Regions from separate parts of the Homo sapiens genome. Here all the other regions are linked to region 1. The links are contacts of gene promoters, found by promoter capture Hi-C in blood cells and fetal thymus (Javierre and others, 2016). All regions are on one chromosome and are shown on one strand. The core of a region is centred on a gene start or on the middle of the fragment in contact, and the rest is flanking DNA. Distances in the headings are between cores, read along the strand shown.

Region 1 (3,802 bases), core at 93-2,592:
TTGGACCACTGACCTGAGTCAAAGCTTTTGAGGTTTTAAGGTACCAGACATCTTTCATCTTTTTATCCTCTTGTTGAATCAGAAAAATGTCTTCATTTAGTCTGTTATAAAAATGTCTAGTATCTTTAGGATAAATTAGCCCTATCCTACAAGAGTGTTATACCTCGATTTAGTAGAGATTATTTTTCTTTAGTATGAATGAAATGACATCACAGCTTTTTTTTCTTAGTAACAATAGAAATCAGTCATTGAGCTTTTGTTCCTTTATATGAATAAAAATATTTAAAATGCTTATTAATTTTTCTTTGTTTTATCAAGTACTCTGGGAAACTAAGTTCATTTGAATATTGTTGGTAAACATTATCTGTGAATGGCTCTTATGCACCATTCAGGGCTCTCTTCATGCATTTTTTTCAAGCTATTAAATAAAACAAAATTGGGATAAAAATAAAGACAAAGATGAGACAAATTCAATGAAAAATGAATGGGAGTTTTGGATGCTTTATTATCTAGTTCTGAGTGACTTGTTTATGCAGCATAAGTAAAAACAAGCGTTTACCTCAGCTTAAATCTGCAAAAGCTTAAGGAAGGGTTGCAAGAAATTCAAATCCACTATCTCATTCACAGCACGAGCAGATTTAATTTCAGTAGACAAGATATAAATTAAGGTTATAAAATTAAATCTTACCTGGCAGTGGTTTGTTTGAAGCTCAGTAATTTGAACTCTGGCTGGAAATAGTAAGCTTCGAGACCCAAAATGCCTTCTCTACTTTCCTTTCATGTTTTATTTTGCCAGTGTTTTATTTCTTGCAGTGTCTTTATATCTGTATTCCTGATAATCCTGTAGCATTAGTTAGGATAGTATGCGGTAGATGAAGACTCCATTTGGATAGGATTATAGAACCAGAAGGGTGAGTTTTGCCTTTATCTGGTAACAGCAGTTGATCTGATCACAAACAATCTGAGTGTTGAGAACTTATTAAAGATTCATTGAATGCTTCAGCAATGAGAAATCCTGGTTGTTCCTATATGCATTTGACCCCCTGGAAAAGTTCTGCTTGTTCGTATTTCAGAATTACACACGCTTCCAAATCAAGCTGCTTTAAAAAACATTATCTGGACTAGAAGCATGGATGTTCTTGCACTCTTGCTTTCCTTTCTCCATACGAACTTTTCAGTCCATCAGCTTCCTTTCTGTAGAAGATGAAGGCATTTCTTCTGTCCTCCTCATGCTTTTGTAACCCATGCTTCTGGTACCCTGTTTTTTGAATAGTGAGGTAAAAATCCAGAAGGAAGTACGGCTTTATCATGTCTCTGGACGGTGAGCGTACTTGGCATGAATGAAGAGCTGATAGGAGCTATTCAAACCAGACAGCAAACTGATGGGATGACGCTGCCATACATAAAAAACTCATTAATTACTTCCCCTGCTGGACAGCAGTATATCCTGAAAGGAAGAAAGAAAGGAGCAGATGATGATATTCGTTTTGATAGGTGTTCTCTGTTTGAACAGCTTGTCATTGAGAAGAGAATCCAGGAAAAGCTGCAGCTTCAGAGTGTGATCAGGTAGAATGGGCAAGAGTTATTTGACAGACAGTTAAGTGACGTATTTTGGGAGGAAAAAGAGGGCTTAGCATGGAGGTAGCTGGAATAAGGTTCCAAAATGCTTTTGAAAATGTTCATTTTTTCCTGTTAGTCTTTTTGGCTAGAAGCTTTTTTTTTTTTTTTTTTTTTTTTTTAAGCTTTGCTAGGCATTATTCACAGACATGTTGCTGAGTTATTTTCTCATATGGTTTTCCCTAAAGATGGAAAATAATTTTTAAAAGTCTTTGAGATAGAAAGAGTATACTGTGAGTTTTAAATATTTGTAGCAGAGAAAAGGCTGCCTTTTTTTTTTTTCCTAAATGTATGCCTGTTTTTATACATCTTTTGGGCATATGCGTTTTGTTGCTTTGGAGTAAAGCATTATAAGTCCTCATTTGATACAAACTTTTAACAGGGTCTTCATTAAAGCTTTTCCTTAAGTTAGATGAAATCCATATTAGCTGTATAAAAGAATAGATTTTTAAATGTCAATTTCATAATTTTTGCACTTCAGTTTTTAAATTTAAAATTCAAATTTTTAAAACTGCACTTCAGTTTAAAATTTAAATTTTAAATTTAAACGTTTTTTCCCTGCCTGAGTTCTTTATGAGTGTATCTAGACAATATAATGTTTTTAAATTTTAAAAAATTATTATGGAACATTTCAAACTTACACAAAACTCTGAAAAATAATACAAAAATAATACATGAACCTCCAGAAACTCATTACCAAGATTCAACAATTGTCAGATTCAATTCTTTGCTAAAATATTTTAAAGCAAATCTCATTTCACCTATTTGTACTTTAGTATGTATATTTTTAAAGTATGGACACTTTTTCACATGACCCTGTGCCATTATCACACCTAACACATTGGCTATAATCCTCTGGAGTCATATAATATCCAGTTCATTTTAAATTCCTTGTGTCTCAGAAACTATGTCTTTATGTAGGTTTTTTCTGAGTGAGAATCCAGACAAAGTATACACTTTAATTGTTAGCCAATAGAATTTTAAACACTGACAGATGAACATGTATGAGAAAGAAGTGAATTTTAGTTTTATAGTGGTCTTTGACACACATTTGTAATAGGAATATTTATGCAAGAGAACATATCTTTAGAATATTTTCTTGAACTTTTCCCACTTAACATTGCATGATACTGAAAAGGATTGTAATTTCATATGGTAATGATTGGTCATTATATACTGGTCACTTCTATAATAAATACCCCAAGTTTTAAGCCACTGATTATTAAGCCATTTCAATGATTGAATGTGACTTAGAGTTCAGTGGAGATCCAAAATGAGAGAAGTAAAAATCTATCAAATGGGGCCATTGTGTTTATGAGGATCGATGACTATAATATTATATATGTTTTTCATTAATGTCAAGGTTTCTTCCCAATGGATTTTAATTTTTCTATGAAGTTTGAACTCCTAGCTCCTTTCTGGTAAAGCATAACATTTGGCTGTCCACTTAACTTTTCCAAGAATACAATAGCATGAGGTCCTGAAAATAACTTGTGTGCCACACCCTCACCTGTCGAAATTCATTCTCATTCAGGTTCTCTGTCTCTTCTCACTCTTATCTCATCTTTCAAATTGGCTGGATGAAAGAGAATGGGGGTGGTGAATATGGGGAGCCATTAAAGGGGTGTAGATGGAAATTATAATTTTCTGTTTCCATCTAAGCTCAAAGCCACTGCTGAGGACCGTGCTCCCATTTTTTATGGAGGGCAATAGAATACTTCTCTCCCAAGGTGCTCACTCTTGAGTATCTCTTGTCATACGTCATGTTATGGCATGAACATTTGGGAGCTTTGTGTTACACTTTATGTTCTCAAATTATACCTTGTCCTTTAAATCTTGCTGAATAAGGACTATATGTGCCAATCACTTTTTGAAAGCTTAGTAAATAGTTACTGATTATCACCATTTAATACAGATAAGCTGAATGGGAAAAGGTGAGCAAAAATGCTTCCATTCTCTTTCCAAGTTGTCTCTGAAATTTTTCTCAGTCATTTATAATACAATGTCAACATAGGAGAACACTTTGCAAATATGCAGGTTCTGCTGGAGAACTTTGTAGGGTGGGTGAAAAAGTGGTTATAGAGGGAACTGGAATAATAGATTATGAGTGTATTTTGGGTGCAAATATTTCATATCATTATCTCTCAGTACTTTAGCTATAAACTGAATTAATGGAAAAACATTG
Region 2 (3,562 bases), core at 864-3,363, 200 kb after region 1:
GATCTCAGCTCACTGCAACCTCCACCTCCTGGGCTCAAGCCATCCTCCCACCTCAGCCACCCGAGTAGTTGGGACTACAGGCATGCACCACCATGCCTGGCTAGTTTTTGTATTTTCTGTAGATGTTTCACCATGTTGCCCAGGCTGGTCTTGAACTGTTGAGCTCAAGCGATCTGCCTGCCTCGGCCTCCCAAAGTGCTGGGATTATAGGCATGAGCCACCGCGCCTGGCCTGCGTCTCTCTTTTCAGTCTCATCATTTGTGTTATTACCAGAACTTATGTATTATTTTTTAAGACTTCTTCCCAAATCCCTAGGCCATGGCATCAACGTCTTTGTCTCTGATTCTTTTGAAGCCAGATCTCTGTGCATTTCCTTCCTTGGCCATTTTGAATTCAGAGCGCTGTGGTTCATCTTTCCCATAACATTTGTAGATTCACCACCCACCAGTGGGGTTTGCCACATTATATATTTTATCTTCTGAAAGACAAACTTCTTAGGAAGGAAAGATAAGAATTGATCAGGCCTTTGCATTCCGTCTATGCCATGGCAGTGGCTCTCGTTATGTGAACTGAGAAAAAGAGAGTGCTAACTTCTAGGGTCTTTGCCCTGTCTCTCCTCTCTTCTCAAAGCCTGGCAGCAGCGATCTGTCTTCTCTTCAGTATAATTAGTGAGATGAGAGGGTCAGAGAGGAAGTCATGAGAAACTATTGGGAAAAACTGGGCAGACTTACCTTGTGTCAAGTGTCTGAGCTAAGATGTGAAGACAGCTCACCATTGTAGTAGAATCACTACCTGGAATAAAAAAAATCATCTGTGATTCCCTCAAACCACTCAGCCTGTCTTTCAAATGCAGTCTTCTCCATATGCACAAGCCACAGCCCCAGCGTAATTAACTACCAACACATAAAGTCCTGGGCCTGTGTTCAGCGACAATGCATTAATTTCTAGCCTGACACAGCCTTGCTTTATGATGGATGTCAGAGGTAGAGCTTAAAATTTTCATTGGTGTGGAAAATCTGAGCAGTTAAAAGGGTAAAGAGGTCATTTATCATGCTTCAGATCAATTTTCTATGGCAAATTTAGGTGACACCTTAGTCCCAAGGCCCGGGTTGTCTGAGGAAGACACAAATAAAGGCAAAGTGCAAGTTCAAGATAATTACAGGGAGGAGCGGTACCTTGAGCAACACTTCACTTACCAAAGAGGGAAATTCTGTGTCTAACGAGAGCGGCAAGTTTGCAGAACAGGCTGAAGCAGAAAAGAAAGCAATTCAGAAAGTCACAGAGATTAAAGGACTCACGCTTTGTATCCCCCACCCCAATGTCCCTTACACTGTGAAACAGAGAGCACAGAGTGGCATTCTAGGGAGATGCACTATGTTCCTAGCAAAGAATCCTCTGGTCCACACTCAGGAACATGTGTGGTTCACACTGCCTTGGAGAATCATGAAAGGTACCTTGCAGGCAGCTCCATCTTTATTAAACACAATCCCTCTGAAACAGTTATAGTATTTTGCAGTGACCCAGTGCAAAGTATACTTTGCTATAGAGTACCATGTACTGAAACGTTCATTTGTGTGACATTCAGGGATAAATGAAGACTCCGGAAAAAAGCATGATTTTCCCCTTGTTGCAATGGATTGCAAACCATTTTGTAGCCTTCCATTGAGGGTATGAAGTTTTAGTTGGGAGGTTGGCAAGAAGCTGGGATTGGAAAAGTGTTAATGGTTCAGGTACAAGGTGAGATTGTGTTAAACAAAAACGTTTTAAGAATTGTGTATTCTCTGTCATCTCCAGTTAGTCTCCAGGCCTGACCAGGTCACTGTTCTAACTGGGTCCTTGGAAACTAGGAAAGGCCCATGTTGTATATTTTTGTGTTTTTTGACTCTCCTTTATGCTTTCACCCATATTTTCCACTGTGGAACCACTGAAGGTTCAGCTGTGCCTCATTGTTTGACTTTCCACAGTGCCTAATGAGGGCCTTGTGATGTCAGAAAGGAGTCCATCGCTGTTTCTGAACATGCTGCTAATGGACCTCACCTAGGGGCACTGTGGCCATCATTTGACCTGTGTTGCTGAGGCTCTTGGGAAGAGATTGCTCAGAACTGACATTACTGACACTGGCATGGCTAGACAAGAACTTTGCAGTTGCTTCAGAAAGCAGTGGAATAGAAAGAGGGAAAAAAGAAGAGAGAAAAAAGCCACCTGGATAGGCCACGGGGTCCCCTGGTGACACATTCCCAGTTTCTGATTCATAACTCATCACGGAGCTCCTTACCCCATTCAGGGCAGAAGTCTTCCATAGGACAACTCAAATGGGGAAGGAATATATCCTGAGTGTTGATGGGGATGAAAACCTGCTCACCTTTAAATGTTTTCAATAAATGCCCTGAGTCTTTTTGGACTGTCTACTGGAAAATCACAACAAAAGTTCCCATGGCTAGTTAATTGGTCTTGCAGTGGAAAAGAGTTGGGACCCCCTGGCCTATAGCTTAAGAGAACACACAATAAGTTACCAGAAACGTGGCAGCCATCTAGGGTGAAATTAAATATCGGCTGCTCTTTTTTTCTTCCCATGGTTTTTTTTTCAGAGACGGGTAGTTGATGCAAACTCATGGAGCTGAAGCGAGGGGCTAACCCTGTGGAATGTGGGCTCTGTTCCTCTGTGATTAGCTGGGCTGTCTTGGGGAAGCCCCTTAACTGCTCTGTGTGGTAACTTTCTCACTGTAGAGAGTCATCATAGGACTCGGGTTTCAGAGTTAGGGGCAGGTAAACTCAGGTATTTCTGGTGAAAATGCTTCAAGTTGGACACATGTTCTGTGTAAACACAAAACAATGTTTTTCTAACAAAGGCAGATATTTGGGTTGTTTGATCCTCATACTAACATGGCTAATCTCATTGTCAGAAGTGCTTTCTTAGGCATGCCAAGGCCAGGATCTGAAATTTCCAAAGGCTACTGCTTGTTCCCTATGGAACCTGGGATTTAACTGGAAGCACCGTCTTTAGCCCAGAGTTATGAGGGCCCCGAGTCCCCAAGTGCCTCTCCTCCATCTCAGAGTTTGAAGACAATAAATGAAAGGAATCTCAGGGAGAGTCTGAGACCCACGGGCAAAGGGCTGCAGATGCAGAAAAGGTGGCGCAAGGGCGAAGATTGCAAAGAAGAGAAATCTGGCAATGCAGACACATTCAGTGCAAACACGACTGCTTCTGTGGGAGGGCAGCAAGCACACTGATGGATTTGAAAGCTATTTGCAAGGCTGATCGGCTCTAGGTTGTATTCCAGCCGTGACAAATGGTGCCTGGTTGAACAAATGTTACATTTCCATGAATTAATAATCTAAGAAAAGTAGATAAAGAAAACAGACACACCTGCCCTCTGTTGGATTATCTGAATATCTCACTTTACTCACTGTTTCCCTAGCTTCTTACAAAACACACTGGTGCATCCTGCAAATGTTTAGGAGGTCTTCGGTCAGCACCTGATTTTAAGAGTATCTCATTTTGATAGCATGGGGCGTCTCCTGTCTTAACTTAGAGTAAGTAATTAGGGTGCAGGATAAATCA
Region 3 (3,536 bases), core at 939-3,438, 260 kb after region 1:
ATCTCCTGAGTACAACATTGCGATGTTGTTCCTATTTGTCTTAAACTGTTATTTAAATCTTTTGCCATTGGTTAATTTTTCAAGAGCTTGCTGAATCTTTTCAACTGTTTTATAAATTTGAGAACAAAACTATGTGTCACACATTTAGTCCTAACCATGCCTAGTCTAGTACCAATCACACTGAAGAATGGTTAACATGCCCTTTCTGACTCTAAAAACATGAATACAAGGGCAGAAATAAACCAGATGATTCTTAAGTGTCTACACCTTGTATGCCCTTCAAAGCTAAGATGACACTTTGTACTCTCAACCCTAAAAGATGTATGTCTCCCAGCACAACAGTCTATCCATATGCTCTCCCTTTAGGACTTTGTTAAACTATATCCATTTATTTCAAGATGTTATTCAACACTTGCCTTCTTCCTCATGCATCCCTTGACTAATTCTACCAGATTCCAATAAACACCATCATTTTGGCATGCCAATGTCTCATGTGTCACTATGTAGGTAGGTGTGGTTGATTACAAAGTTTTTAGTAATTATTCCATACATGTTTCTGATCACTCTACTTGGGTTTTCTCTGTTTCCTGCTTTGAGTTGTAGGAAGTGACTTCTGGGCAGGACTTCTAGAGCATCACGTTTCACAGCCCCTCATAGACTCTTCACATGTCACATGATGGATGTCCAAGTTATGGCCACTGATAATAAATCTACCTAGGAAAGCAGATTCAGCAAAGCTAGGAGATATTATGTTCCTTAAACTAAGTTTGTAGTCTGGGGAAGATATCGCTATAACTCTCCAAGGACTCTAAGAAAACACAGAATAACTTTTCCCTTTTTCTTGTGGATTGATAGGAAACCTTTTCCTTCTCAGAGTCTACAATAGGAAGGGATTAATCACAGACACCCAAACACATCTGTGCTTAGCCTGGCTACAGTGCCTGCAACTGCGGGGAAAATAGAAGCTTAACGACTTCATTACTTCCAGAGTTAAACACAACCCAAGGCTTCTCAACAGCTAATAAAAATAAAGTGAAGCAAATTATATGCCTTAAAACATTTTCTTAAAGACAAATATTTAAGAAGATTTACTACAAACATTAAGAAATAATAGTAAATTAATGTTAGAAAGAGTTTTCTAATTCCATTATTTTGATATATTAAAAGCTTTTGATATGGCTTAAAATTTTTAAAATTAGCACCAAACAGTGATTAAATAATACCACCATTTTTGACAAGCTCAAAGGAGAAAATGTTGTTTCTCCTTGTTGATTAGGGAGACAGGAAGACAACAGTGCACAATGGTTCATAAACTGTGGCCTCTGGAGTCAAACTGCTTGATTCAATTTCTGGCTTTACTTTCTACTACCTATGAGACTCTGGGCAAGGTATTTAATCTAAGCTTCAGGGTCTTCATCTACAATATGAAGATAATTGTATCCACTTGCTATGGTCTGAATATTCGTGTCCCCCCCACCCTCCAAAATTCATGTTGAAATCCTAACTGTCCAGGTGACGATATTAGGCAGTAGGGCCTTTGGTAGGTAATTAAGTCATAAGGGCAGAGCCCTCATGAATGGGATTTGTGCCACTACAAAAGAGGCCCCAGAGAGCTGCCTTGCCTCTTCCACCATGTGAGAACAAAGTGAGAAGGCACCATCTATGAACCAGGAAACCTCACCAGACACTGAATCTGCCAGCACCTTGATCCTGGACTTCCCAGCTTTCAGAAGTGTAAGAGATAAATTTACGTTGTTTATAAGCTACCTTGTCTATGGTATTTTGTTATGGCAGCCTGAACAGACTAAGATGCTTCCCTCATTGGATTGTCGTATAATTAAAGTTAATATATGTAAAAGTGTTTTGAACAGTGCCTGGCACATGGTAAATGCTCAATAAGTGTTAGCTGTTATCCTCACCACAACCCTCACCACCCCCATCATCACTCACCATCATTCACCACACTCACCCTTATAACCCCCCTATATGACCATGCACCACCCAACCATCATATCCCATCATCACCATCATCATCAGCCACCACCATCACCATGTCTACCTTCACTAACCACCACCCACCTCAGTCACCCTACAACTCACTATAACCACTGACCAACTATCATATTCCACTATCACTAGCATCATCACCATTCATCACCCACTATCACAATTCCCACTACCACTCACCATTACCCACCATGAACACCCCATCACCCACCATAATCATATACCACCACCCACCATCATCTACCATCACCCACCATGAATACTTCCATCATCTGCCACGATTCCTTATATCACTTTTATCTTACATTGCTGAGCAGAGTTCACAAAGGTATTCAGAAAGTCCTTTTGAATCACCTTTTAGACATAAGGACTTATAAAGGGCTTTGAGATTCCAAAGAAATCTGTTTATTACAGTTTTCCCATTTCAAATGCCCTACCACTCTCGTAAAGATCATGAACAACAACTATCATAACTACAAGTTTATAAGGTTTGTGGCACTGGGCTGATCTAAGTTTTCCATGGATTATTTCATTTAAGCCTCACAACTCTGTGAGGCATACATTATTATCATCTCTGTTTTACACATAAAAAAGCACTGAGGTTAGGTATTTTGACTAACTTGCTTCAATTCACACAACTAGTAAATGATAGAGCCAAATTTGAACCCAAGTTACTCCATTCTCTACTCCAAACTCTTCTGTAACATTCTGTTGTGATTGAGCCACTATTCCTCCTCCTAAGTATTCAGAAATATTCTCATTTTTCTTTTTCATACTCTCCACATTTTTCTTTTTCATGCCTTCACCTGTGGCAACCTACTGTGAAGCATTTGAGCTACCAATGGACTGCAAATCTACTTAGTTCTAATCTGTTGATTGATTTCTATCCTACAAATTCAATTAGGGGTATCTCTATATGGGTACTGTACACAGAAAAATCAATATAATGTGACCCAAGCCAAGCTTATTACCTTCCATCTCAAACCATTTTGCTTCTTCTGACATCCTTATTTCTTTCTCTCTACCCTCAAAAATCTTTAAGCTTCAATGTGACCTCTGTTCCTTTTCTCTCAACATACCTAGGCTCAGCCATCATCATCACCATTCAGTCCTTGATACAGTTTGTATATTTGTCCCTGCCCAAATCTCATGTTGAATTGTAATCCCCAATGCTGGAGGTGGGGCCTGGTGGGAGGTGTTTGAATCATGGGGACAGATCCCTCATGGCTTGAGGCTGTCTTCACAACAGTGAGTTCTTAAGAGATCTGGCCATTTAAAAGTGTGTGGCACCTCCCCCTTGCCTTATGCCTGCTTTCACCCTATGATGTGCCTATTCCCCCTTCACCTTCTGCCACAATTGAAAGCTCCCAGAGGCTTCACCAGAAGCCAAGCAGATGCTAGCACCATGCTTCCTGTAAAGCCTGCAGAACCACGAGCCAATTAAACTTCTTTTATTAACAAATCACCCAGTTTCAGGTATTTATTTAGAGTAATGCAAGAATGGACTAATACTGAACATTTGTACCAAA

What was found. Contacts are between HindIII fragments. The CHiCAGO score rates a contact against its expected background, and 5 or more counts as called.
Region 2: a contact is called between a fragment that was not itself captured here and the fragment with the promoter of CHRM5 in region 1, in 1 of 17 cell types (endothelial precursors). The highest score is 5.1, in endothelial precursors.
Region 3: a fragment that was not itself captured here is called in contact with the fragment with the promoter of CHRM5 in region 1 in 1 of 17 cell types (erythroblasts); the score reaches 5.1 in erythroblasts.

The regions. Positions count from the first base shown.
Region 1 is chr15:33,966,037-33,969,838 of GRCh38, reverse strand. CHRM5 (cholinergic receptor muscarinic 5) reads right to left here and starts at 1,342. Exons shown (of 3, transcript NM_012125.4): 1 at 689-1,342. The region is part of intron 2 of AVEN (apoptosis and caspase activation inhibitor); the gene reads left to right. The HindIII fragment of the contact is 969 bases long and covers 746-1,714 here.
Region 2 is chr15:33,766,342-33,769,903 of GRCh38, reverse strand. RYR3 (ryanodine receptor 3) reads right to left here. Exons shown (of 104, transcript NM_001036.6): 61 at 1,197-1,246; 62 at 732-792. Among named protein-coding and RNA genes, the nearest start is that of CHRM5, 200 kb to the left of the region's middle. The HindIII fragment of the contact is 6,297 bases long and covers 1-3,562 here.
Region 3 is chr15:33,711,913-33,715,448 of GRCh38, reverse strand. All of the region lies in intron 43 of RYR3 (ryanodine receptor 3), which reads right to left. Among named protein-coding and RNA genes, the nearest start is that of CHRM5, 250 kb to the left of the region's middle. The HindIII fragment of the contact is 1,568 bases long and covers 1,405-2,972 here.